Linked DNA regions of Homo sapiens: all the other regions are linked to region 4. Evidence: promoter capture Hi-C in 16 types of primary human blood cells and fetal thymus (Javierre and others, 2016). All regions are on one chromosome and are shown on one strand. Each heading gives the region's core, a stretch centred on a gene start or on the middle of the fragment in contact. The rest is flanking DNA. Distances are from core to core; before and after follow the strand shown. Region 1 overlaps HMOX2 (heme oxygenase 2). Region 2 overlaps DNAJA3 (DnaJ heat shock protein family (Hsp40) member A3). Region 3 overlaps NMRAL1 (NmrA like redox sensor 1). Region 4 holds the start of NUDT16L1 (nudix hydrolase 16 like 1). Region 5 holds the start of LOC105371064 (a long non-coding RNA gene). Region 6 holds the start of PPL (periplakin). Region 7 overlaps HMOX2 (heme oxygenase 2).

The links. Contacts are between HindIII fragments. The CHiCAGO score rates a contact against its expected background, and 5 or more counts as called.
Region 1: a fragment that was not itself captured here is called in contact with the fragment with the promoter of NUDT16L1 in region 4 in 7 of 17 cell types (neutrophils, M2 macrophages, erythroblasts and 4 more); the score reaches 7.4 in neutrophils.
Region 2: a fragment that was not itself captured here is called in contact with the fragment with the promoter of NUDT16L1 in region 4 in 3 of 17 cell types (monocytes, neutrophils and M1 macrophages); the score reaches 6.7 in monocytes.
Region 3: a fragment that was not itself captured here is called in contact with the fragment with the promoter of NUDT16L1 in region 4 in 1 of 17 cell types (neutrophils); the score reaches 5.0 in neutrophils.
Region 5: a fragment that was not itself captured here is called in contact with the fragment with the promoter of NUDT16L1 in region 4 in 1 of 17 cell types (erythroblasts); the score reaches 7.6 in erythroblasts.
Region 6: the fragment with the promoter of PPL here is called in contact with the fragment with the promoter of NUDT16L1 in region 4 in 5 of 17 cell types (megakaryocytes, M1 macrophages, M2 macrophages and 2 more); the score reaches 7.6 in megakaryocytes.
Region 7: a contact is called between a fragment that was not itself captured here and the fragment with the promoter of NUDT16L1 in region 4, in 3 of 17 cell types (neutrophils, erythroblasts and M1 macrophages). The highest score is 6.1, in neutrophils.

What each region holds. Positions count from the first base shown.
Region 1 is chr16:4,479,035-4,482,340 of GRCh38, forward strand. The region is part of intron 1 of HMOX2 (heme oxygenase 2); the gene reads left to right. It overlaps LOC124903636 (a long non-coding RNA gene), which reads right to left. Exons shown (of 3, transcript XR_007064964.1): 2 at 2,730-2,845; 3 at 230-527. Among named protein-coding and RNA genes, the nearest start is that of HMOX2, 4.3 kb to the left of the region's middle. The HindIII fragment of the contact is 5,105 bases long and covers 1-3,306 here.
Region 2 is chr16:4,443,519-4,446,708 of GRCh38, forward strand. DNAJA3 (DnaJ heat shock protein family (Hsp40) member A3) reads left to right here. Exons shown (of 12, transcript NM_005147.6): 7 at 1,146-1,210. Among named protein-coding and RNA genes, the nearest start is that of DNAJA3, 19 kb to the left of the region's middle. The HindIII fragment of the contact is 654 bases long and covers 1,294-1,947 here.
Region 3 is chr16:4,460,417-4,463,532 of GRCh38, forward strand. It overlaps NMRAL1 (NmrA like redox sensor 1), which reads right to left. Exons shown (of 6, transcript NM_020677.6): 6 at 1,278-1,543. The coding sequence ends at 1,364. Among named protein-coding and RNA genes, the nearest start is that of NMRAL1, 13 kb to the right of the region's middle. The HindIII fragment of the contact is 653 bases long and covers 1,518-2,170 here.
Region 4 is chr16:4,692,232-4,695,444 of GRCh38, forward strand. It overlaps NUDT16L1 (nudix hydrolase 16 like 1), which reads left to right and starts at 1,331. Exons shown (of 3, transcript NM_032349.4): 1 at 1,331-1,648; 2 at 1,747-2,007; 3 at 2,727-3,213. The coding sequence starts at 1,496. The coding sequence ends at 2,948. RefSeq lists enhancers at 902-991, 1,243-1,750, 1,751-2,258, 2,861-3,213 and silencers at 1,182-1,541, 1,652-2,151. The HindIII fragment of the contact is 13,448 bases long and covers 1-3,213 here.
Region 5 is chr16:4,914,244-4,917,823 of GRCh38, forward strand. All of the region lies in intron 1 of PPL (periplakin), which reads right to left. LOC105371064 (a long non-coding RNA gene) reads left to right here and starts at 820. Exons shown (of 4, transcript XR_933028.3): 1 at 820-1,548. It overlaps LOC124903637 (a long non-coding RNA gene), which reads left to right. Exons shown (of 3, transcript XR_007064965.1): 3 at 118-205. The HindIII fragment of the contact is 7,303 bases long and covers 1-3,580 here.
Region 6 is chr16:4,935,147-4,938,499 of GRCh38, forward strand. It overlaps PPL (periplakin), which reads right to left and starts at 2,002. Exons shown (of 22, transcript NM_002705.5): 1 at 1,838-2,002. The coding sequence starts at 1,899. RefSeq lists a silencer at 1,945-2,344. The HindIII fragment of the contact is 7,029 bases long and covers 1-3,353 here.
Region 7 is chr16:4,496,781-4,499,910 of GRCh38, forward strand. All of the region lies in intron 1 of HMOX2 (heme oxygenase 2), which reads left to right. Among named protein-coding and RNA genes, the nearest start is that of HMOX2, 22 kb to the left of the region's middle. The HindIII fragment of the contact is 2,942 bases long and covers 390-3,130 here.

The DNA of each region.
Region 1 (3,306 bases), core at 261-2,760, 210 kb before region 4:
CAGCTACTCGGGAGGCTGAGCAAGGAGAATTGCTTGAACCTGGGAGGCAGAGGTTTCAGTGAGCCAAGATCATGCCATTGCACTCCAGCCTGGGCGACAAGAGCAAAACTTCATCTCAAAGAAAAAAAAATTCTATCAGAGTGAACAATAAGTAGGATGCTAGCACATACCTGTAATCTCAGCTACTTGGGAGGCTGAGGCAGGAAGTTAATACTTGATGAGCCTAAGTTTTTGGTGTCTTTGGATGCTGCTTGTCGATCTAAGGGGTTTCCAAACGCTTCTTTTTTGGTAAAATTGGGATTATGACTAGGAATCTGTTTTTTGGAGTTTCCCAGGTGATCCTTGTTTGGGGTCCTTGTCTAAGGCACAGGCTGGAAAGAGGAGGGAGTGGACTGGCAGGGAAGATAGAGCAGTAAGCGAATAGAATACCTGGGGAAAGGGACGCCAGAAGAGTGATTGTTGTCTGGTGAACTGTGCTGTCAGTGTGTATGTCAGAAGCCAACAAAGTGGATATTCTCTTCACTCAGCTTAGGGAAAAAATTAATTTTTGTTTCACAGATAGATTCGTTTCCTTCCCAGGAGTATTATAGGCCTAATTACTGTCATAGTTCTCAGTAACTTTAAAAAGGCTGTGGGGAAGAATGGCATAACAGACTAGTATCTTGTACCCAGCCTGCCTTTTTCTTATTCTATTTTTTTTTTTTTTTTTTTTTTTTTTTTTTTTGAGACAGTCTTGCTCTGTCACCCAGGCTGGAGTGTGGTGGCACAATCTCAGCTCACTGCAACCTCCGCCTCCTGGGTTCAAGCGATTCTCCAGCCTCAGTCTCCTGAGTAGCTGGGATTACAGGCGTATGCCACCATGCCTGGCTAATTTTTGTATTTTTAGTAGAGATGAGGTTTCACTATGTTGGCCGGGCTGGTCTCCTACTCCTGACCTCAGGTGATCCGTCCACCTTGGCCTCCCAAAGTGCTGGGGTTATAGGCATGAGTCGCTGCGCCCGGCTTTTTTATTTTTTATTTTTTATTTTTTTGAAACAGAGTCTGGCTCTTTCACCCAGGCTGGAGTACAGTGATCTGATCTGAGCTCACTGCAATCTCTGCCTCTGGGGTTCAAGCAGTTCTCCTGCCTCAGCCTTCCAAGTAACTGGGACTACAGGCATGCACCACCATGCCTGGCTAATTTTTGTACTTTTGGTAGAGATGGGGTTTCGCCATGTTGGCCACGCTGGTCTCCAGCTCCTGACCTCAAGCGAACCACCCTCCTTGGCCTCCCAAAGTGCTAGTATTACAGGCGTGAGCCACAGCACCCGGCCTTTTTTTTTTTTTTTTCCTTAGAGTCTTGCTCTGTCACCAGGGCTGGAGTGCAGTGGCGCCGTCTCGGCTCACTGCAACCTCTGCCTCCTGGGTTCAAGTGATTCTCCTTCCTCAGCCTCCCTAGTAGCTGGGATTACAGGTGTGTGCCACCACACCCAGTTAATTTTTGTATTTTTAGTAGAGACGGGGTTTCACCATGCTGGCCAGGCTGGTCTCAAACTCCTGACCTCAAGTGGTCCACCCACTTTGGCCTCCCAATTAGAATTAGAGGTGGAGCGACCGTGCCCGGCTAAGGGCCTACTATTTTTTTTTTTTTTTTTTGAGACAGAGTTTCACTCTTGTCACCCAGGCTGGAGTGCAGTGGTGTGACCTTGGTTCACTGCAACTTCCACCTCCCAGGTTTAAGCGATTCTCCTGCCTCAGCCTCTGGAGAAGCTGGGATTATAGGCGTCTGCCACCACGCCTGGCTAATTTTTTGTATTTTTAGTAGAGACGGGGTTTCACCATGTTAGTCAGGCTGGTCTCAAACTTCTGATGTCAGGTGATCCACCTACCTCGGCCTCCCAAAGCATTGGGATTACAGGCGTGAGCCACCGCGCCCGGCCAGGCCTCGTATTTTTGCTTTTGCTCATGTTTTCATGTCTGAGATAGAGGGCCTACTATTAAAGCACTGTGCTGAGGCTGCAAGAAGGTACTAGTGTGATTAAAACAATCTGGTCCGGGCGCGGTGGCTCGCACCTGTAATCCCAGCACTTTGGGAGGCGGAGGCGGGCGGATCACGAGGTCAGGAGATCGAGACCATGCTGGCTAACACGGTGAAACCCCGTCTCTACTAAAAAATACAAAAAAAATTAGCCGGGCATGGTGGCGGGCGCCTGTAGTCCCGGCTACTCGGGAGGCTGAGGCAGGAGAATGGCGGGAACCCGGGAGGCGGAGCTTGCAGTAAGCAGAGATCGCGCCACTGCGCTCCAGCCTGGGAGACAGAGCGAGACTCCGTCTCAAAAAAAAAAAAAAAAAGAAAAAAATAAAACAATCTGGCATTATAATGCCATCCTGATTTTAGTTAATCTAGTTGACTGGCTGGCCTCATAAGTAGCTGTGATGATCATAATTTTTATGCGAAACACCTGTCATTGAGCATACAGGTGTACTGAAAGAATTGGGTGGAACAGGGTATTTGAAATCAGAATTGTTCTGGAAAGTCGGGTACATAAAGCTCTATCTTTAGCACAGTTGTCTGTATTGCACAATTAATATTTATAGAATGGTACACCTTATGTTATCTTTTTATTTTTCCACCTAACTCTCTCTCTAGATTGAAAGGTACTTGACGTGCAGAGCAAGATCTTATCTTTCTTTGTAGTCACAGTACTCAAGAGGGTGATAAATGTTTGTTGATGATAATGTAATGTCACCTGTCCAAGTGTAGCCATCATCTTCAGTAGTTACTTGATCTGCTGTTGTGTCTGGCAAGACTGCTATGTGCTGCTGCAGAGGAGCCATTGTCACCTTGAACTATCTCTGTGGCAGTCTGGAGGAGGGCAGGAGGGAGAAGGGAAGGAATAAATGAGCAAAGCTGAGTGTGGATAGTAGTGTTTGACGGCAGATGAAAAAGCAAACTTGGTGAAGTGTGGCCTGGGTGGTCATCTAACTTCTACCTAGAAGACATTAAACCTTTACTCTCTTCTTTTTATGTAGGAAGGCAGAGGGAAAGTCAGGCCTTCGGTTGGCTTGGTAATAGCAGGTATCCCAGTAATTAGAAAATAACTTAAAAAACTCCATTCCTCTACCATATACTTGAGAATTTGTCAATCTCAGCAAAATTTTCAAATGTCTGTGTTCAGTGTCATATTTGTCCTGCTCTGTAAGACTTTTTGTGTTTATAAAAAGGCAAGTGGACCCAGAAGGGGAAAAATATGCTGTTCTGAGAAACTAGCTGCTGTAGGTTATGCTTTTCTGTCTTTGCTTGTGGCTCTTCTGGTTATTTGAGAA
Region 2 (3,190 bases), core at 371-2,870, 250 kb before region 4:
TGCCACCCTATCTACATCAGCCCCACGGATCCCACCCCTCACTCCATGTCTACTGTTCCCTTGCCCAAAACTCACTTTCTGCTTTCTTTTTTCGGTTAACTTTATTCATCTTGGAGATCCCAGCTTGAGTATCCCTTCCCTAGCTAGCCTCACACCCTCCTCCCTGTTCTTTTTTTTTTCTTTTTTGAGACGGAGTCTCGCTCTGTCACCCAGGCTGGAGCGCAGTGGCCCGATCTCGGCCCACTGCAAGCTCTGCCTCCCAGGCTCATGCCATTCTCCTGCCTCAGCCTCCCAAGGAGCTGGGACTACAGGCACCTGCCACCACACCCAGCTAATTTTTTGTATTTTTAGTAGAGACGGGGTTTCATCGTGTTAGCCAGGATGGTCTCGATCTCCTGACCTCGTGATCCACCCGCCTCGGCTTCCCAAAGTGCTGAGATTATAGTCATGAGCCACCGCGCGTGGCCTGCTTTACTGTTGTTTAGATGTCTGTTTCTCTAGAGTTGTGAGCATTTCCATTGAAGAGCATGTCTCTGTTTGTAGTTATGCATTAGTGCTATCGTTTGGTTAACACCCATCACCCCAGTGAGACCATGAACTCCCTGAGGTACTGCCTAGACCAAGCCTGAGGCAGGTGCTCAGTCATCAGGTGTCTGTGTTGCATCTCTGGAAGGTTACCCATGTGCCTCTTAGATAATGACATTGTTCCTCGTTAATAAGAAACAGGAGTGGGGAAGAAGCTGTGGGTTACAAGTGGATCTTGGGTGGAAAGTGCTGTGGGAGGTCTCACAATAACTGCTCCCTTTCTTTTTTTTCTTTTTCTTTTCTTTTTTTTTTTTTTTTTAAGACGGAGTCTCGCTCTGTTGCCAGGCTGGCGTGTAGTGGAGTGATCTCGGCTCACTGCAACCTCCGCCTCCTGGGTTCAAGCGATTCTCTTTCCTCAGCCTCCTGAGTAGCTGGGACTACAGGCGTGTGCCACCACGCCCAGTTAATTTTTAGTAGAGACCAGGTTTCACCATGTTGGCCAGGATGGTCTCGATCTCTTGACGTCATGATCTGCCCGCCTCGGCCTCCCAAAGTGCTGGGATTACAGGCGTGAGCCACCGCGTCCTGCCTAACTTCTCCCTTTCTAATGTCCCTTGTAGGAGTCGAGGATGGCCAGACCGTGAGGATGCCTGTGGGAAAAAGGGAAATTTTCATTACGTTCAGGGTAGGTGCCCTGCCCCGCACAGCTTCTGTTGGGCCTTTCCTCTCTTCGGGTGGGTGTGGCTGAGGCTGCTCCCATGTAATCAAAGCTTCACAGGAACATGTCTCGCCATTCATGTTTCTGAGGGGCACAGTGGCCACCTAGATGTGGTTTTTAGCTGTTTGTTACCTTCAAGATTCTGTGCCTTGTGTGGAGAGAAGACAACTTCTTCAACATGCTAACAAGTTAGAAATACAGGTCACATAAAAATACAGGAAACATCTTGTGTTTTTATGATAAGATTGTTGATGAGGCAGTGAGTGTGAAAGTTACAATTTTACATACTGTATACAGGGGCAAACCTTGGTTTTCTGAGATGGTGGAAACATTAATGAAGACAATGCCTTCTACTGGCAATTGCCCTCCTATGTGTACACCTGAGAAAAACCCACACAAGCCTAGCAGGCGATAGGTACAAAGGGGTGCACAAGAGTCCTGTCCATGGTAGCAAGACACTGCCTTCCTCCAACAAGAGAATGGCTCAGTGAGCCGTGGTGGTCAGAGGCTGCTGCAGGGCAGTCGGAAGGAAAGAATGAGAGCTGAACTCAAGGGATGCTCCAGGCGTTGCAGGTACAGACAGCAGGGATGGAAGGCAGCTTGCCAGTGGCTGTAGGGCCTCAGAGACCATCTGTGTAAAGTTTTAAAACCTGTGAGATGGCATTATGTATTATTTAGGGACACGGAAATACATAGTAAGTAGAAGCTTGTAGGAATGATAAATGTTAAAGTCAGGGTTGTGGTTAGCTGAGGAGGGCAAGACTCACCGGTGTTTATGATGTTTTATTTTATTTTACTTTATTTTTTGAGGTGGGGTATTGCTTTGTTGCCTAGGATGAAATGCAGTGGGGCAGTCTTGGCTCACTGTAGCCTCAGACTCCCTGGGCTCAGGTGATCCTCCCACCTCAGCCTCCTGAGTAGCTGGGACTACAGGCACACGCCACCAGGCCCGGCTGACTTTTGTATCTTTAGTAAAGATGAGGTTTCACCATGTTGCCCAGGGTGGTCTCAAACCCCAGGGCTCAAATGATCCACCCACCTTGGCCTCCCAAAGTGCTGGGATTACAGGTATGAGCCACTGCGCCCGGCCTGTGATATTTTGTTACCTCCACTGGGTTGTGGGTATGACATGCTTGTTATATTATTTACTCTTCCCTTTTTTTTCTTTTTTTTTTCTGGAAAGAGAGTCTTGCTCTGTTGCCCAGTCTGGAGTGCAGTGGCATGATCTCAGCTCACTGCAACCTCCACCTCCCAGGTTCAAGCGATTCTCTTGCCTCAGCCTCCTGAGTAGCTGGGACTACAGGCATGCGCCACTACACCCAGGTAATTTTTGTATTTTTAGTAGAGATGGGGTTTCACCATGTTGGCAGGCTGGTCTCGAATTCCTGACCTCAGGTGATCCACCCACCTTAGCCTTCCAAAGTGCTGGGATTACAAGCGTGAGCCACCACGGCTGGCCTATACTTTCTAATAAAGTAAGATTTTTTTTTTTTTTTTTTTGAGGTGGAGTCTCGCTCTGTTGCTCAGGCTGGAGTGCAGTGGTGTGATCTCTGTTCAGTGCAAACTTCATCTCCCAGGTTCAAGTGGATCTTCTGCCTCAGCCTCCTGAGTAGCTGGGATTACAGGGGCCCGCCACCACACCTGGTTAATTTTTGTATTTTTAGTAGAGACAAGGTTTCACCATGTTGGTCAGTCTGGTCTCAAACTCCTGACCTCAGGTGATCCACTCACCTTGGCCTCCCAAAGTGCTGGGATTACAGGTGTGTGCCACTGTGCCTGGCTAAAGTAAGATTAAAAAAAAAAAATCAAAAGCCAGTTTTACATTTTTGTTTCCCTTCACGATTGAATGGCTTGATCTGAGACTGAGGAAATCCAGGCACGCTTCCATTTCGGCATTTCAAGTGTGTAGAACATTGCAGTGTTGAAATATGTAGAACATGTCATTCC
Region 3 (3,116 bases), core at 594-3,093, 230 kb before region 4:
GGGCTCAGTGGCTCATACCTGTACGATAATCCCAGCTACTCAGGAGGTTGAGGTGGAAGGATCACTTAAGCCTGGGAGGTGAAGGCTGCAGTGAGCTATGACTGTGCCACTGCACTCCAGCCTGGGCAACAGAGCGAGACCTTGACTCTTTAAAAAAAAAAAAAAAAAAAAAAAAAATTGGCCAGGCGCGGTGGCTTATGCCTGTAATCCCAACACTTTGGAAGGCCGAGGCGGGCGGATCACGAGGTCAAGAGATCGAGACCATCCTGGACAATATGGTGAAACCCCGTCTCTACTAAAAATACAAAAATTAGCTGGACGTGATGGTGCATGCTTGTAATCCCAGCTACTCGGGAGGCTGAGGCAGGAGAATCACTTGAACCCAGGAGGTGGAGGCTGCAGTGAGCTGGGATCGTGCCACTGCACCCCAGCCTGGGTGACAGAGGGAGACTCCGTCTCAAAAAAAAAAAAAAAAAAAAAAATCGGAGCTGCCATGGACCACAAACTCTCAGGCAAATAACTGGTCTCTCGGCCTCTGACCCTCTTCTCTGTGACCCACCCCAGCAAGCAAGGTGGGTTGTTTCTCCTTCAGTTTTGCTTCCCAGCAGTGTCCAATTACTGTGCGTTGTGGACCACAGCTCTGCCACATCCGATTTTCCTTTTTCCAACCTGTTTGAAGTTCACCTGTGTCCAGGATGGTACCCCAAGGCCGGCTCCTTCCAGGACAAGGATGAGGAGAGAAAGGGAGAAGCCCATATCTCCCCCGCCTCCCTGCAGAGCCTGTCTCCAGTTCACATGTGCAGATGGCCTCACTAGCTCTGGAGATGAAAGGGGTGTGTCAGAAGCTCGGCTCCTGGGGCTCCTCTGTGTCCTGTGCTATGTCCCCGTCTGTGAATGAATTTCAAATGTGGGAACAGAGGCTGCTGGTCAGAGCTGTTCTGCTAGCTGAGGTCAGAACAGGCCACTTCACACCTGTCTGACTAAACACGTTTAGGTCACTCGTCCCAGTCACCAAGTGATCCCTTCAGCCTTGGACCCTCCCTTACTGCTGTGTTGGTACAGCCCTGGAGCCACCCCTTACTGCTGTGTTGGTACAACCCCGGGTCCCCTCACTTACTGCTGTGTTGGTACAGCCCTGGACCCCCCCCCCCCGCTCCAACTTACTGCTGTGTTGGTACAGCCCCGGACCCTCCCCAACCACTTACTGTTGTGTTGGTACACAACTACCACCCCAACCCAAGTCCTGGAAGCAGAGTCCTCTTCTCCTGGAAGCCATCTGGGAGAACAATGGCTTTATTCAGATGTTGGTGCCTCTGCCCCTCTGGTGCCCCCGATCCCCACAAGGGGCCGCGAGGCGGGCAGGTCACAGCAGGTTGAAGTCCCCTTTGTGCTGTTCCAGCCACTGGTCCAGCGTCAGGGCCTTGGGGTTGAGTCTCAGGGTCAGCTCGATGTCACGGTCGGGTCTCAGGGCATAGAAACGGAACATGTTGGCCAGGTCCCGGGCACCGGGAAAGCCAAGCTTTTCGTAGTCCTCAGGAGTCATCTGGAAGCAGAGGAGCCTGTCGTGGCCGGCGTCCTCCAGTGCCCCGGGAGGTGGCGGGGCAGGGAGGCCGGATGGGCTGGGGTCTCCCGACCTGCTACACCCAGAGCCACTATTGTCTCGGTCCCTGACCCAGGTCCTCCGTACAAGGTCATTTGAAAACTTCTAAGAGCCGAAAGTTCAGAAACTGCTGCTCTCCTGAGCTGCCTGACATTGTAGATCAGTTTAAAGATTGTTCTTGGCCAGATGCTGTGGCTCATGCCCGTAATCCCTGCACTTTGGGAGGCTGAGGCAGGCAAATCTCTTGAGGCCAGGAGTTCGAGACCAGCGTGGCCAACACGATAAAACCCCGTCTCTTTCAAAAATACAAAAATTAGCCAGCCTGGTGGTAGGTGCGTGTAATCCCAGCTACTTAGGAGGCTGAGACAGGAGAATCGCTTGAAACCAGGAGGTGGAGGTTGCAGTGAGCTGAGATCACCCCACTGTACTCCAGCCTGGGCAACAAGAGTGAGACCCTGTCTCAAAAATGAATAAATAAAAAGACTATTATTTTCAGATCATGAGACGAAAATATCTCAGTCCCTTCCAAATCAGAGACCTGCCTGCATCACTTTCTTTCTCAAAAACCAAAGCTTGACCAGACACAGTGGCTCACACCTGTCATCCCAGCACTTTGGGAGGTGGAGGTGGGAGGATCGCTTGAGCCCAGGAGTTAGGCCCACCACGCCGGGCTAATTTTTTGTATTTTTAGTAGAGACGGGGTTTCACCGTGTTAGTCAGGATGGTCTCGATTTCCTGACCTTGTAATTGCCCGCCTCAGCCTCCCAAAGTGCTAGGATTACAGGTGTGAGCTACCGCGCCTGACCCAACTTTCGTCTTTTAAGGACTCCAGTGTTTCCCAGATTCTTTTTTTTTTTTGGAGTTGGAGTCTCGCTCTGTCGCCCAGTCTGGAGTGCAGTGGCATCTCGGCTCGCTGCAAACTCTGCCTCCTGAGTTCAAGCGATTCTCTTGCCTCAGCCTCCCAAGTAGCTGGGATTACAGGCGCCTGCCACCACACCCGGCTAATTTGTTTATTTTTAGTAGAGATGGGGTTTCACCCTGTTGGCCAGGCTGGTCTCAAACTCCTGACCTCAGGTGATCCACCTGCCTCGGCCTCCCAAAGTGCTGGGATTACAGGCGTGAGCTACTGCACCCAGCCTCCCAGATTCTTTAATGAGTATGTCTTACTTTCCTAATGGTAATGACAAACATTAGAAACCAGGTACCCAAGAGTCTGTCCAGTAGGCCTCCTGCCCACCCAGCCAGGCCAATGGGGGCAGGGGTCGGCCCTATCTTTCTAGCCTCTTTCCCTTTAAATCCCCTCCCACAGGGGAGGGGTCGGGTCTATCTTTCCAGACTCTTTTCTCTTCAAATTCCCTCCCACAGAGGAGCCCGGCAGGGCCTGCATTTTCACCCCTCCTTGCCTTGGCTCCTATGGCCCTCTCCTCCTGGAAGCTTTTCTCTCTATTTGGTCAAAACATCTAAGCCAGAAATTTCACTCTGTGGCCAGTTAGCTCCTGGAACAGCAGAAAATAAA
Region 4 (3,213 bases), core at 81-2,580:
ACGGGCCCTGGGCGCTGGCTGGGCTTGGCTGCCTAGGGGTGGGGCCCTCTTTGGGTGAGAGGACCCTTCCCCTCGCTGCCCTCTCGCCTTCTCACATGGTCGCTCACTCTGGAATCTGGACTTCCCCTGCTGCTTGCAGCTGTCCCATGTGACCCCTGACCCACTGGTGGCCACAGGAGGAGAGAGAGGTGCCCTCTCTGGGTCCTTATTCTCCACATCTGAGGCCACCACGGACCTAACAGGTGAGTTTCCAATGCCCACCCTCTCCCTCTCTCTTCTCCTGCCTGCCTCCACTGAAGGCAGCCTTCTCTGTGCCAGCGAGCTCGGCCTCACTGCACGGCTCTCCCGAGGCTGTGCCCCAGCCCTGGGCACCCATGCTGTGAGTGCAGGCAGGGGGGTTCATGTGCTCAGCAAATCCATTCCCCTGGTGGGGAGGAAAGTGGCCCTGGGCCCTGCTGCTGGTGAGGTGAGCCTTGCCATCATGGAGTTCAGGGCACCTCGCTCTGCCTTGGGCTGTTTCGGATGCTTCTGAGCCCCAGAGACATCTCCAGTACAAACACAAGGTAAGTGGTAAGTACCTCAGGCCCTTGTGGAATCGGGATTCTGCCTCTGTCATCAACTGCCAGTTGTACTTAGGCAAGTTATGTCCCTCTCTGAGCTCCAAGTTCCTCATCGTAAATTGGGGAAACCCCTCTTCCCCCCACAGTACCTGGCACAGGGTGCCCGGCTTGGAGGATGCTGGAAAGGTCCAGCCCCGGAATTTAAGTCACTTTCTGCCCAGCAAGCTGGGTCCACAGAGCCCCAGAGCTCCCGGTCGTCCGCCCTGACCCAGCGTGGACTCGGGGACTGGGGCACTCAAGCCCTGCCAAGCCCTGCTCCCCGTGCTGTCCTGGATCGAGCCTGCCAGCAGGGTGGCTAGGTCGGGACAGCTGTCGTGCATGGCAGGCGAAGGCCATCTCCCTCCGGGCTTGGGTCCGGTGGCGCTGGCGGAGCAAGGCTCCGGGGCATCTCTGGCTCGTGTGGTCGTGCCAAGGGTGCCATTGCGGATGGACGGGGCCATGCGGGCCGGGTCGGCCTCCTGGGGAGAAACGGGTGGGCGCAAGGGGATCGGCGCCATCGAGGGTGGAGAAACCGCAGGGAATTTCGGCTGTCCGCTTTGGGGCGCCAAGGAAGATGTTCGTCGCCCACAATGTCAACCTTGAGCCACCACGGCACCGACCAGTCGTCTAGGCTCTCCCGTCGGAGGCGGGGCCGCCGCCCAGGGTGTGCGACTATTGGGTGACGGCTGACGCGCACCGCCCTCCTTTGCACACCGCCCGCAGCACCTCTCGACGACGCACCGCGGCGCTGCGAGGGGCTCGGTCCCGGGGCGCGCCGGCGATTGGCGGGGGAACCGGACCCGGGGGCGCGGCCGCCCGCGGATTGGCGAGGCACGGCGGGGGCGGGCTCGCGCATGCTCTTAAGTGGCAGCGGCGGGGACGGGGTCAGTGCCAAGATGTCGACGGCGGCGGTTCCGGAGCTGAAGCAGATCAGCCGGGTGGAGGCGATGCGCCTAGGGCCGGGCTGGAGCCACTCGTGCCACGCCATGCTGTACGCCGCCAACCCTGGGCAGCTCTTCGGCCGCATCCCCATGCGCTTCTCGGTGCTGGTGAGGACGGGCGAGGGCGCGGGCGAGGGTGCCGGCGCGGGCGGGCCCGGGCGGGGGCGTCCGTCGACCCCGCGGCTGTGACCCGCGCTCCCTTGCAGATGCAGATGCGTTTCGACGGGCTGCTGGGCTTCCCCGGGGGCTTCGTGGACCGGCGCTTCTGGTCGCTGGAGGACGGCCTGAACCGGGTGCTGGGCCTGGGCCTGGGCTGCCTGCGCCTCACCGAGGCCGACTACCTGAGCTCGCACCTGACCGAGGGCCCACACCGCGTCGTGGCGCACCTGTACGCGCGGCAGCTGACGCTGGAGCAGCTGCACGCCGTGGAGATCAGCGCGGTGCACTCGCGCGACCACGGCCTGGAGGTGGGGCCGCCGCCCGGGCCCCGCCCCCCGCCCCGGGGTTTGGCTCTGGCCCCGTGGAAGGCACCGATGGGTAACACGTCTCCTGAGGGTCCCCTGGCCGGGCTGGGTCGGGTGTCGCTGTCTCCAGCAATGGGGTGGGGAGAGGGGTCTGGGGCTGGGAGGCCGGGAAAGGAGGGGCGGGGGTGGGGGCCGGCGCTGGGGCTCCCTCAGGGCTGTGTTACATCCGCCTTGCTGCCTGCCATTGCCAATCCTGGGAGTGGGGGAGTGGGATCGGTGGGGAGGAAGGGATGGGGGAGGAGCGGGGATTGCTTGGGGAGTTGGGAAACTTGAGCACAGCGGGGGTTGTAAAACTTGGGAACCTCATGTTGGGCGTGAAGGCTCTTGGGATTTGTACTTTGTGGTCTGGAAGGGCTGGACTGCGGGTGTTCAGGCTTCGTTGGGTGGACGGGGGGAGCATGGGGTGCGGACCCCGGGGTGGGGTGGCCTGGGTACGAGGGGGGGGAGTGCATGGGGTCAGCCTCCACACTTGCTTGGGGAGGAGGGGGCTGCACTGCTCCGAGGGAGCTGGCTGGCTTCTGCCAGGCCCTGCGTGGGTCTCCCATTAAGTCCTTGGCAAAGCTGGCTGCTCATACCCTGGCCTCATAGCTTCCAGGCCCCTCCTGCTGGAGGTGCCATTGTGTGGCAGGCCTGGCCCCAACCCCTACCTCCTGTCTGCGCAGGTGCTGGGCCTCGTGCGGGTCCCGCTGTACACCCAGAAGGACCGAGTCGGAGGCTTCCCCAACTTCCTGAGCAACGCCTTCGTGAGCACGGCTAAGTGCCAGCTCCTCTTTGCCCTCAAGGTGCTCAACATGATGCCCGAGGAGAAGCTGGTTGAGGCCCTGGCTGCAGCCACCGAGAAGCAGAAGAAGGCCCTGGAGAAGTTGCTCCCGGCCTCCTCTTGAGGGCTGCCTGAGCTGGTGGCACCCTCCCCTGGGCCGGAAGACTGGGAATTCCTGCTAAGTGTGGCTTCTAGAGTGTTTGTGTGTACCCCGCTTCTGACTGCCTAGGGCGAGTGGGCATCCTGTCATCATCTCCACTGTCCCAAGCAGTCACTAGGTGGCGGCCGGGCCAGCTGGAACCCAGCCCATCCTCTCAGGCAGAGCAGGGTGGTCCGGGCACACTGGGCCTGCCTCTCCAGCCTCAGGATGCTCTTGTTTATTCTGGGCT
Region 5 (3,580 bases), core at 681-3,180, 220 kb after region 4:
CAAGGTTCTGGGGCCTAGCATGAAAAATTCAGATTCCCGGCCACTAACCCAGACCTGCTGAACCCAGGTCTCCAGAGCTGGGCCCAGGAAGCTGTATTATTATTACTATTTTTGCAGGTTCCCCAGGGTACCTGGACACCTACCGGAGTCATGGACCAGCAATGCAGGTGCTGTTGATGTTGGGGGCATTGGGGGCAGAAATGGCAGCAGCCAACATGCTGGGGATCCATCCGTCTAGGTTCCACACCTTGCTTAAGGGCCAGCTTTGTGGCAGACCTGGATACACCGGAGCTGGGGGATCTTGAGGGAACAGGACCCAAGCCATACCTTCTGCAAGGTCAACTGGGGGCAGCCTGTCCCAAAGTGGGGTCCCAGGAACCCAACTCTTACAAGTCTTATTCTTCCTTGGTCAAGGCACTTAGGAAAACCCCATCCTTGATATGTTCATGAGCCAGCAAAGGCACTGACAAGTCCTGCAGTGGAGAAAGCCAGTGTTTGGCGGGGTGGCCAGGAAGGCTTAGCAGTGGGGGGCTTTGGATGGAGGATCTCGGTAAGAAGGGATAAGGTGGGCTTCTAGAACAGCCAGGTCAGGGGTCCACCCGACTCCTCCCTCATTCCCTAACCCCCCACTTCCTGGTTGGGCAGGCCACATGGAGAATGTGAGTTTCTGGGCCCCCACACTCCCACCCCAGTCACTGACCATCTGCCAGGCCAGCTGCACCTAGAGGCGGTGAGTCTCACCCCAAATATTTAACCCCTGACTCTGCAGTGCATCGTTAGGGTCTGTACTGTGGCTCAAGTGGGGGCCTTTGTCTCTCTTGGGCCCAGTCCCACCTCAGGCACAGGGCCAGCTCCCAAACCAGCCCTTTCATGGATTGTGGCAGATGCAAGAAAAGCCACCTTCTGGACTCTATCCTGGCTGGGCCTGTTGTTCCAGCCGAAGCCCCCCAGAGGACATGGGAGTTGTGGGGCAATGACCACTGCCTCAGGGACCTTGGACTCCTGATGGGACAAAGCTGTGAGCGGTAGCAGGAAGCTATGAGCAGACAGGCCAGGCCCAAGGCCCACTGGGCTGCTTGCTGCTTAGACAGCCTCAGGCAAGTGCCCTACCCTCGTACAGCCTCCGCTTCTCCATCTGTCCTCTGGCGATGACCACAAAGGCATCCTGGGCATTTGCCACTTGCTGTGGGCTTTGCCAGACCTCAGACATATTCACAGGCACCAGCTCAATATCATCCTTGCCCTAAGTCCCCGGGGAGGTTGGTGTGCCCCTTTGAAGAAGGGGATGAAGAAACCAAGACTCTGAGACATCAAAGCACTTGCTCAGGGTCACACAGCTGGTGAACCGCGATTCTCCCCGCAAGCAATCTCACTCCAGAGGCATGTGATCGACTGGGCTAGAAGTTACTCATGGGGATGCTAGGAAAATCACACCAATAACAATCTCCACCATCGTAATATGAGCTAATACTTACTCTCTACGTGCCAGGCTCCTCACTGTTTCTGACTCAATCTTCATGACAACCCTGAGAGCTGGGTGTTAGCATGGTAGGTAATTGTATTATTATCCCCGTTTATGGGTGTGGAAACTGAGGATCAGAGAGGTTAAATAACTCTCCCAAAGTCACCCAGCAATTAGATGGCAGAGCCAGGACTCTAGGCCCTTAACAATTCCATGTGACGATCTTACAGGGCTCCCAGCACACAGTAGGTACTTCACAGATTAATTTAAAATGCCAAGAGCCCAAAACCACACCGGGATGCCACTTTTCATCCACTACAATGGCTATAATAAAAAAGACAATAACAAGTGTTGGCAAAAATGTGGAGAAATTGGAACCCTCGTGCCTTGCTAGTGGGGATGCAAAATGGTGTACAGTTGTGGAAAACAGTCTAGAAATTCCACAAAAAGTTAAGCAGTCACCATAAGACCCAGCAAGTCCACCCCTACGTATTTTTTTTATTTTTATTACTTATTTATTTTTTTGAGACAGGGTCTCACCCTGTTGCCCAGGCTGGAGTGCACTGGCATGATCTCGGCTCACTCAGCCTCCGCTTCCCAGACTCAAATGATTCTCCTACCTCAGCCTCCCGAGTAGCTAGGATTACAGGTGTGTGCCACCACACCCGGCTAACTTTTGTACTTTTAGTAGAGACGGGGTTTTGCCATGTTGGCCAGGCTGGTCTCGAACTCCTGACCTCAGGTGATGCACTTGCCTTGGCCTCCCAAAGTGCTGGGATTACAGGTGTGAGCCATTGCGCCCAGCCTTATTATTTTTTGAGACAGGGTCTCACTCTGTTGCCCAGGCTGGACTGCAGTGGTGCAATCTTAGCTCACTGCAGCCTTGACCTCCCAGTCTCAAGCAATCTTTGTACCTCAGCCTCCGAGTAACTGCGACTACAGGCGCCTGGCACCGTGCCCAGCTAATTTTTTTTTTTTTTCAGAGAGGGAGGTTTCGCCATGTTGCCCCAGCTGGTCTTGAACCCCTGGGCTCAAGCAATCTATCTGCCTCGGCCTCCCAAAATATTAGGATTACAGGCGTGAGCCACTGCACCCAGCCCACCCCTACATATCTATCCAAGAGAAATGAAAACCTATGTCTGGGCTGGATGCGGTGACTCACGCCTGCAATCCCAGCACTTTGGGAGGCCGAGGCAGGTGGATCACCTGAGGTCAGGAGTTCGAGACCAGCCTGGCCAACATGGTGAAACCCCATCTCTACTAAAAGTACAAAAAAATTAGCTGGGCGTGGTGGTATGTGCCTGTAATCCCATCTATTCGGGAAGCTGAGACAAGAGAATCGCTTGAACCTGGGAGGCGGAGGTTGCAATGAGCTGAGATGGCGCCACTGCACTCCAGCCTGGGTGATGGAGCAAGACTCCATCTCAGAAAATAAAAAACAAAAAAACAAAAACAAAAAAACAAAAAAATCTATGCCTGCACAGAAACTTGTACATAGATGAATCACAGCAGCATGATTCATAATAGCCTTTTGGCCTCCACTTTTTAGTGGAAACAACTCAAATATTCATCAACTGATGAAAATATAAACCAAACGTGGTCTATCTCTATTATTCGGCCAAAGAATGAAGGCAGGACTGACAGCTGCTACAGCCTCAGGAACCTCGAGAATGTTATGCTCAGTGAGAGAAGCCAGACACAAAAGCTCACATATTATTCCATTGATAAGAAACGTCCAGAATGCAGAAATCTACAGGAGCAGAAAGTGGATGAGTGGTTGCCATGGCCCAGGAGGATGTAAAATGGACAGTGATTGCTAAGGGGTATCAGATTTCTTTTTGGGGTGATAAAAATGTTCTAAAATCAATCGTGGGGATGGCTGTACAACTCTGTGACTATATTAATATCCACTGGGCTGGGCGTGGTGGCTCGCACCTATAATCCCAGCACTTTGGGAGGCCGAGGTGGGCAGATCGCTTGAGACCAGGAGTTTGAGAGCAGCCCGGGCAACATGGTGAAACCCCATGTCTACTGAAAATACAAAAAATTAGCTGGGCATGGTGATGCACACCTGTAGTCCTGGATACTCGGGAGGCTGAGGTAGGAGGATTACTTGAG
Region 6 (3,353 bases), core at 752-3,251, 240 kb after region 4:
CCAGACCCTCCCAGTCCCTGCAGCTATAAAGGATGGGATGCCTTTCATCCTCATGCTTCTGGGAAAGCCCGCACCCCTCCCAGCTTGTCTGGGTTCATTAGAACCTTTTGTTAGGTCCAAGCTGGGGCCTTCAGGATGGAGAGCTGCACGAAGGAGGGAGGCTGGGAGGAGGCAGAGGGCGGGGCGAGGCCTGGCCCCACCACTGGTATGTGGGTGTCTGCATGTGTGAAGGACTGGATGGGTCTAGTCTCTGGGGTGGAGAGGACAGAACGGTTCTCCACGGCTGGCACGGAGCATCCAATTGTGCAATGCCCCAGGGAACAGTGCAGGGACTGGACGGGCCTCTGGTTGGGTCTGAGTGCCAGCTGGACGCAGCCATGGAGGAGGGGTGTGCAGGCCCTGCCCAGTCTCTGGGGTTGTGAAAGATAGGGGAGGGGTGGGGAAATCTCTAAAGGCGGGTAATGCCTCTGAGCTTGAAAGAGCCCAAACGGAGATACGGGTGGGTGGGATCACAGGGCAGGGGGGTTTCTGAAAGGGCTGGAAGGCCCCGGAATGGAGTGTCGCACTCCAGCGTGCTAGGGCCCCGCCGCCTGCACCTGTCCGACTGGTCGGCCTAGGCCGGACTGCAGGGGTTGAGTGGGAGCCCTGGGCCCAGAGGCCTCTCCTTGCCTAGGGAAGAAGTGAGGAGCTGCTTGAGGGCACAGTGGGGGCTCCCAGTGAGAGCAGCTTGGGGGCAGAACTCCCAGACAGGAGAGCCATGTAATGTGCGGGCCCCTCACCTGCCTGAAGCCTCTTGTCCGAGAAGCTGGCAAAATGGTCCTTGCTAGCCCAGAGCCCCCACTCTATTTTCCGAAGTGGGGATATAAGGCAGGGGCTGGATTCCCACCCCCTCCGTCAATCTCAGCATCTCCACCAGGCTCCCCTAAACCGGTTATTAAGTGAACACATTAGGCTTATCAAAAGGGACGTGGGCTGCTTCTCCCTGCAAACACATCAAGACATGCCATTCCCCTCCCAGGCCGCCCTGGGAACCCGCGGCTCAGAGACGCCGCCAGTTTCGGGGCTGGGGTGGGGGCAGGGAGCCACACCCCTGCGAAACCGAGCTTCGAAGAGGAGGCCCCGAAGCCGCCCAACCTCCGCTCAGAACCCAGAGGGTGGGGAGGTAAGGGGGTGCCTCCCCCTGTGCCCCTCGACCCGACCCCACACCCCCCAGGGCCTCCGGGCGCGGCTCTGGCGCGCAGGGTGGCAGGTGCCGGGAAGTGCAGCGGCGGGTGGCCCGCCCCCTCCGGACACCCATCCCTCGCCTCCCCGACGCCAGGAACACTTGCGCGGTCTCAGAGGCGCTGGAGAGCGCCCCCCGACGCCAGCTCAGTTTCCCTGCCTCAGGGCGCCCCCTGGACGGAGCTTCCTGGGTCGCCCGCAGCGACCCCGCCTTGAGTGCCCGGTCCTCCAAAAACTCCGCCCCCTCATCCAGGTGACTATTCCCGGTCCTGTGCGACCCTCTGCGCAAGAGCGACCCTGGGACACGGGGGTGCCCTGTACCCCCAGCTCAGCTGCCCGTGCCCTAGGCCCTCAAGGCAATGCTCCCTGGGCTCCCGGAGTCCCCTGTGTTATGCTCCCCCTCGGGGACCCCAGCCAGTCCCTTCCCACCTGGCGGCGCTTCCCAGCTTCAGGGTGGCCTCGGTCCCGCGTTCCCGAGAGTCCCGCACTCCGGGTTCAGTTCCCGGTTCCTGGACCCCCGTACCCCCCATTCCTACACTGCCCGGGAGGTCTTCCAGGTCCTGTGCGCCCACAGGGGCAAGAGCGTCCCGGAGCGGAGCTGTGGGCGCCTCCTCACCTCCGGGTCTGCACAGTGGGGCTGTATTTGCCTTTGTTTCTCTTCCTGAAGAGCGAGTTCATGGTGGCGCTCGGGGTGCGGGCGGCGGCGGCTGGCGGGCCGGGCGCGCACCGAGGGGCGGGCGGGAGCGCAGGTGAGCGAGCGGCGGCGCGGGGAGCCCGGACTGCGGCGCGGCAGTGGCTCCGGGTCCCTACTCGCTGGGGGCGGGGCGCCCGCCGGCCACTGGCTCTGCGGGCCGCTCCCCGAGAAGGTGGTGCTTACCTTCCCGAGGAGGGGCCACCGCGCGGGCGGGGCTTGGACGCGGGGGTGGGGACACTGGGTCTTGGCCGGACGCCGCCCACCCCCAGCCGGGGGACTCCGGAGGCCGGGCAGGCACTGGGGCGCAAAGGCCGCCGGGGCGAGCGCTCGCAGCCCCACCCTCCTCGGGCCCGGCGCGCCTCTGGCCGAGGCCTTCACCTGGTTCTGCGCTACCGCGGAACTCGGCGCTCCTGGTGCTTTGGCGGACACCCAGCTGGGCCCCGCAAGACAGGTGCGGCAGAGACCCGCACGGATTCATGTGCCCTAGTAGCTAGCGAATTGCACTCAGATGGTGGCAATTGAGGGAAGGGGGCTGAACTGCCGAGGGCGCCGGCCTGAGTTCAAGCCCTGCCACCCCCAGGTTGGCTGACACTCCTGGGCAAGGTGTTTTACTGCTCCCAGCCACAGTTTACTTCTTTGTCAAACGGTGATAACCACCACCCCATCCGAAAGGCCTGTGGGGATGTCCCTGCAGGTAATGCACGCAAAGCGCTGAGCGCAGTGCCCTGGCCTGAATCTGCTCTCCGCTTGCCATCTCGGGTGGACAAAAACTCCTTTGAAACTTCAATAACTCCAGGCCCTGGCACTAGAAGAGCGCTTCATAGCTGGTCATAAAAGCTGCTCGATTGCGGCTCAGAACAACGACGTTGCACAATTCTGCCAGCATGTCCTGGCCCAGACTGTGTGCCAGTGGAGGAGGCTGCCCTTAGACAGAAACCTAATCTGACCTGAAGCCCGGATGGCACACACCACCACACCTGGCTAATTTTTAAAAATTTTTGTAGAGGCAGAGTTTCACCATGTTGCCCAGGCTGGTCTTGAACTCCTGTGCTCAAGTGATCTGCCGGCCTACAGCCTCCCAAAGTGCTGGGATTACAGATATTAGCCACCGTGCCCAGCCAACCTTATTCTTAATGGGGCTTCTATGGGTGGGCTTAACCCATTTATGCCTGAGGTTGCAATTTTTTGAATTGATAAATCATACCTTGGCAGTGACCTTGAGCAGTAGGAGATAACTCCCACAGGCGTCACGTTCCAATAATGGACCACTAGGCGTAAATAGAGGTGTGATTCCTCCTAAAGTTGTGCCTGCCTGCCTGCCTTCCTTCTTTCCTTCCTCTCTCTTTCCTTTCTTGCTTTCTTGCTTTCTTTCTTCTTTCTTCTTTGAGACTCAGTTGCCCAGGCTGGAGTGCATTGGCACAATCATAGCTCACTGCAG
Region 7 (3,130 bases), core at 611-3,110, 190 kb before region 4:
AGTCTGGTGCTCTCTTGGGTGAACTTGAGGGCCTTCTGCCAAGGCAGGAATGGCTTCTTTTAAAAAAAAATTATTTTATTATTATTTTTTTTTTTGTAGAGACGGGGGGTCTCACTATGTTTCCTAGGCTGGTCTCAAACTCCTGGACTCAAGTGATCCTTCAGCCTCGGCCTCCCAAAGTACAGAGATTATAGGTGTGAGCTACCAGTACCAGCCTCCAGGAATGGCTTCTAAGGCTTCAGGCTGTTTATAGAGAGGAAAGCACCTGGGAGCTGATGGCACTCTCAGGTTTCCCAAAATGACAGTTCTGCATATGCATCTTAATCACCTACTTTTTTTCCCTCCACCCCCAAATGCTATTCACAGTCCTTGTTTATGATAGAAGCTGAAGCTTACAGGTGACAATTTTTGTGCCTGTATGAAAGGAAACATGACTGACTCCACTTATCCACACGACACCTGCTTTCAAGGTTGTTCAGTGTTGGAATAATTTTTGCTTGATGGTAACCTAGGGATGACCCAAGGTTTCATTAGTTAAAGCCAGCCCTGTGGGATGCATGAAGTCTAGCCTCTGTCCCTGTAAAAATCCCACCAGAACCATTTTAGAATTCACTCAGGACTTCACCCCTCCCGCTCCTGGTGCTGCTTATGGAACTAAAGAATCCTCATCTTCTCAGCCCTGGGACACATTGTCCTCATATAAAGCGAGGTGGCAATCAGGGAACAGGGGCGAGTCTTGTGCTTATTTCAGTTATAATAGGAAGGCTCTACCAGGACTCATCATTGTCCCAACAATAGTCGATTCCAGGCCCCTTCTTTGAACTCATTTCAGTGTCTCAGGTTCTGTCCTTGGTGTCTGTCTTCACTGCTTGCTCAGTTGTATTTGAACATGGCTAGAGATGAGCACACTTCTCTTCTCCAGTAAAAAAGCCTGCAAGAAAAGTCTTGGACTTCTTGAACTGCTATTCAGTTGTCTTTTTTATTCAATGTATTTTTTGAGATGGAGGGGGTCTCACTTTGTTGCCCAGGATGGTGTTGAACTCCTGGCCACAAGTGATCCTTCTGCCTCAGAGTTCCAAAGTGCAGAGATTACAGGCTTGAGCTACCACAACCGGTCTCTTGTCAGTTTTTGAGGTTACTTAAGAGGTTAATGCCTTTAAATTAGTTTGCAGTTGTTTTGCTTTTGCCTGCCTTCTTGCCCAAATGCGCAAGTGCTTATTTAGTAATCTGACTCAAGTGCTTTGTGTCCCCAGAGTCCCCACTTTTCCAGGATTCATTGTCTTTTTTTTTTTTTTTTTTTTTTTGAGACACAGTCTTGCTCTGTTGTGCAGGCTGGAGCGCAGTGGCACTGTCGGCTCACTGCAACCTCCACCTCCTAGGTTCCAGAAATTCTCGTGCCTCAGCCTCCCAAGTATTTGGGATTAGAGTCACACACCACCACACCTGGCTAATTTTTTTATATTTTTAGTAGAGATGGGGTTTTGCCATGTTGGCCAGGCTGGTCTTGAATGCCTGACCTCAGGTGATCTACCCGCTCGGCCTCCCAAAGTGCTGGGATTACAGACATGAGCCACCACACCCGGCTGGATTCAGTCTTAACTTGCTCTTTTTTTTTTTTTGCATCTCACTCCCTTGCCAGGCTGGAGTGCAACGGTGTGATCATAGTTCACTGCATCCTTGAACTCCTGGGGTCAAAAGATCCTCTTGCCCCAGTTTCCCGAGTGGTTGGGACTACAGGTGTGTGTCACCACGCCTGGCTAATTATTTTATTTTTCGTAGAGACAAGGTCTGACTGTGTTGCCCAGGCTAGTCTTGAGCTCCTAGGCTTAGGTGATCCTCCCACCTTGGCCTCCCAAAGTGTCAGGATTATAGGTGTGAGCCACTGCACCCAGCCTGGATTTGCTCTTTTATCAAGAGGTTAATATTTATTCTTCCGTTCAGTGAACCGTGGGATTGAATTCCCCCAGCGATTGAAATGAAAGGGCTTATGTATAACATTTCCTGAGGAATGGTAGTACCAGAGTTCAGAGGAGACCTCAGGCCATTTATTCTATAAACTCAGAAGCTGTAGTTCTAGATGATGTGGCTTCTTCAGGGTGTTGAGAAGTCTCTGTTATCTCGTGCCTTGTTGGATTAGAACTGATTGAGCTCTGTCTGCTGCCCCAAACATGTGGCTCAGCCAATCTCCAGTGGCATCTGCAATGTGGGTATTCTAGCCTCCAGTGCTCACGTGGCTCACCTTAGAAAGGGCAGATATTCCTATTTCCTGACGCTGCTGGAGAATGAGGTCTGAGTCAGAAGTCCTCAGGTGTGACCTGCCCAGAACTATCTGAAATTGCTGGATTTCTTGTTCTTCCTCAGTGTTTAACAATCACCCAATTGCTCATTCTCACCAGCGACTTCCTCAGTAAGAGCTCAATATTTGAGGTGGTGCTGCATTTTGTCAAACATTCATGCGTGTTAGCCCACTTAGTCTTCGCAGCACACAGTGGATTAATGGATTTTTAAAAGCTGGTATTTATGCACGATGGAATACTACTCAACCATAAACAAGAAGGAAATTCTGTCATTTGTGACTACATGGATGCATCTAGAGGACATTATGCTAAGTGAAGTAAGCCAAAGAAAGAAAGACAAATGGTGCATGATATCACTTATATGTGAAATCTGAAAAAGTCAGTTATAGAAGGAGAGTGTAACATGTTGGTTACCAGCGGCTGGGGGAAGGGAAGGGTGGGTGTGGAAAGGGGAGATGTTGATCAAAGGGTACAAAATTTCAGTTAGGAGAAATAAGGTCTGATGATCTGCCTTACAGCATGGTGACTATAGTTAATATGGTTAATATTATAATAGTATTGTATACTTCAAAATTGGTAAAAGAGTGGATTTTAAAAGTTGTCACCACAAAGAAATGATAAGCATGTGAGCTGATGGATATGTTAATAACCCTGATTTAATTATTCCCCAATGTATACATGTGTCCAAACATCACACTGTACCCCATAAATATAATTGTCAGTTAAAAACTTAGGAGTCAAGTCAGATCTGAAGAGAAGTCAAAACAGATTTCATACAGTTAATTTAGAGACATGGGACCCAATTAAAAATTTGTATTACTTTACTTGGTATT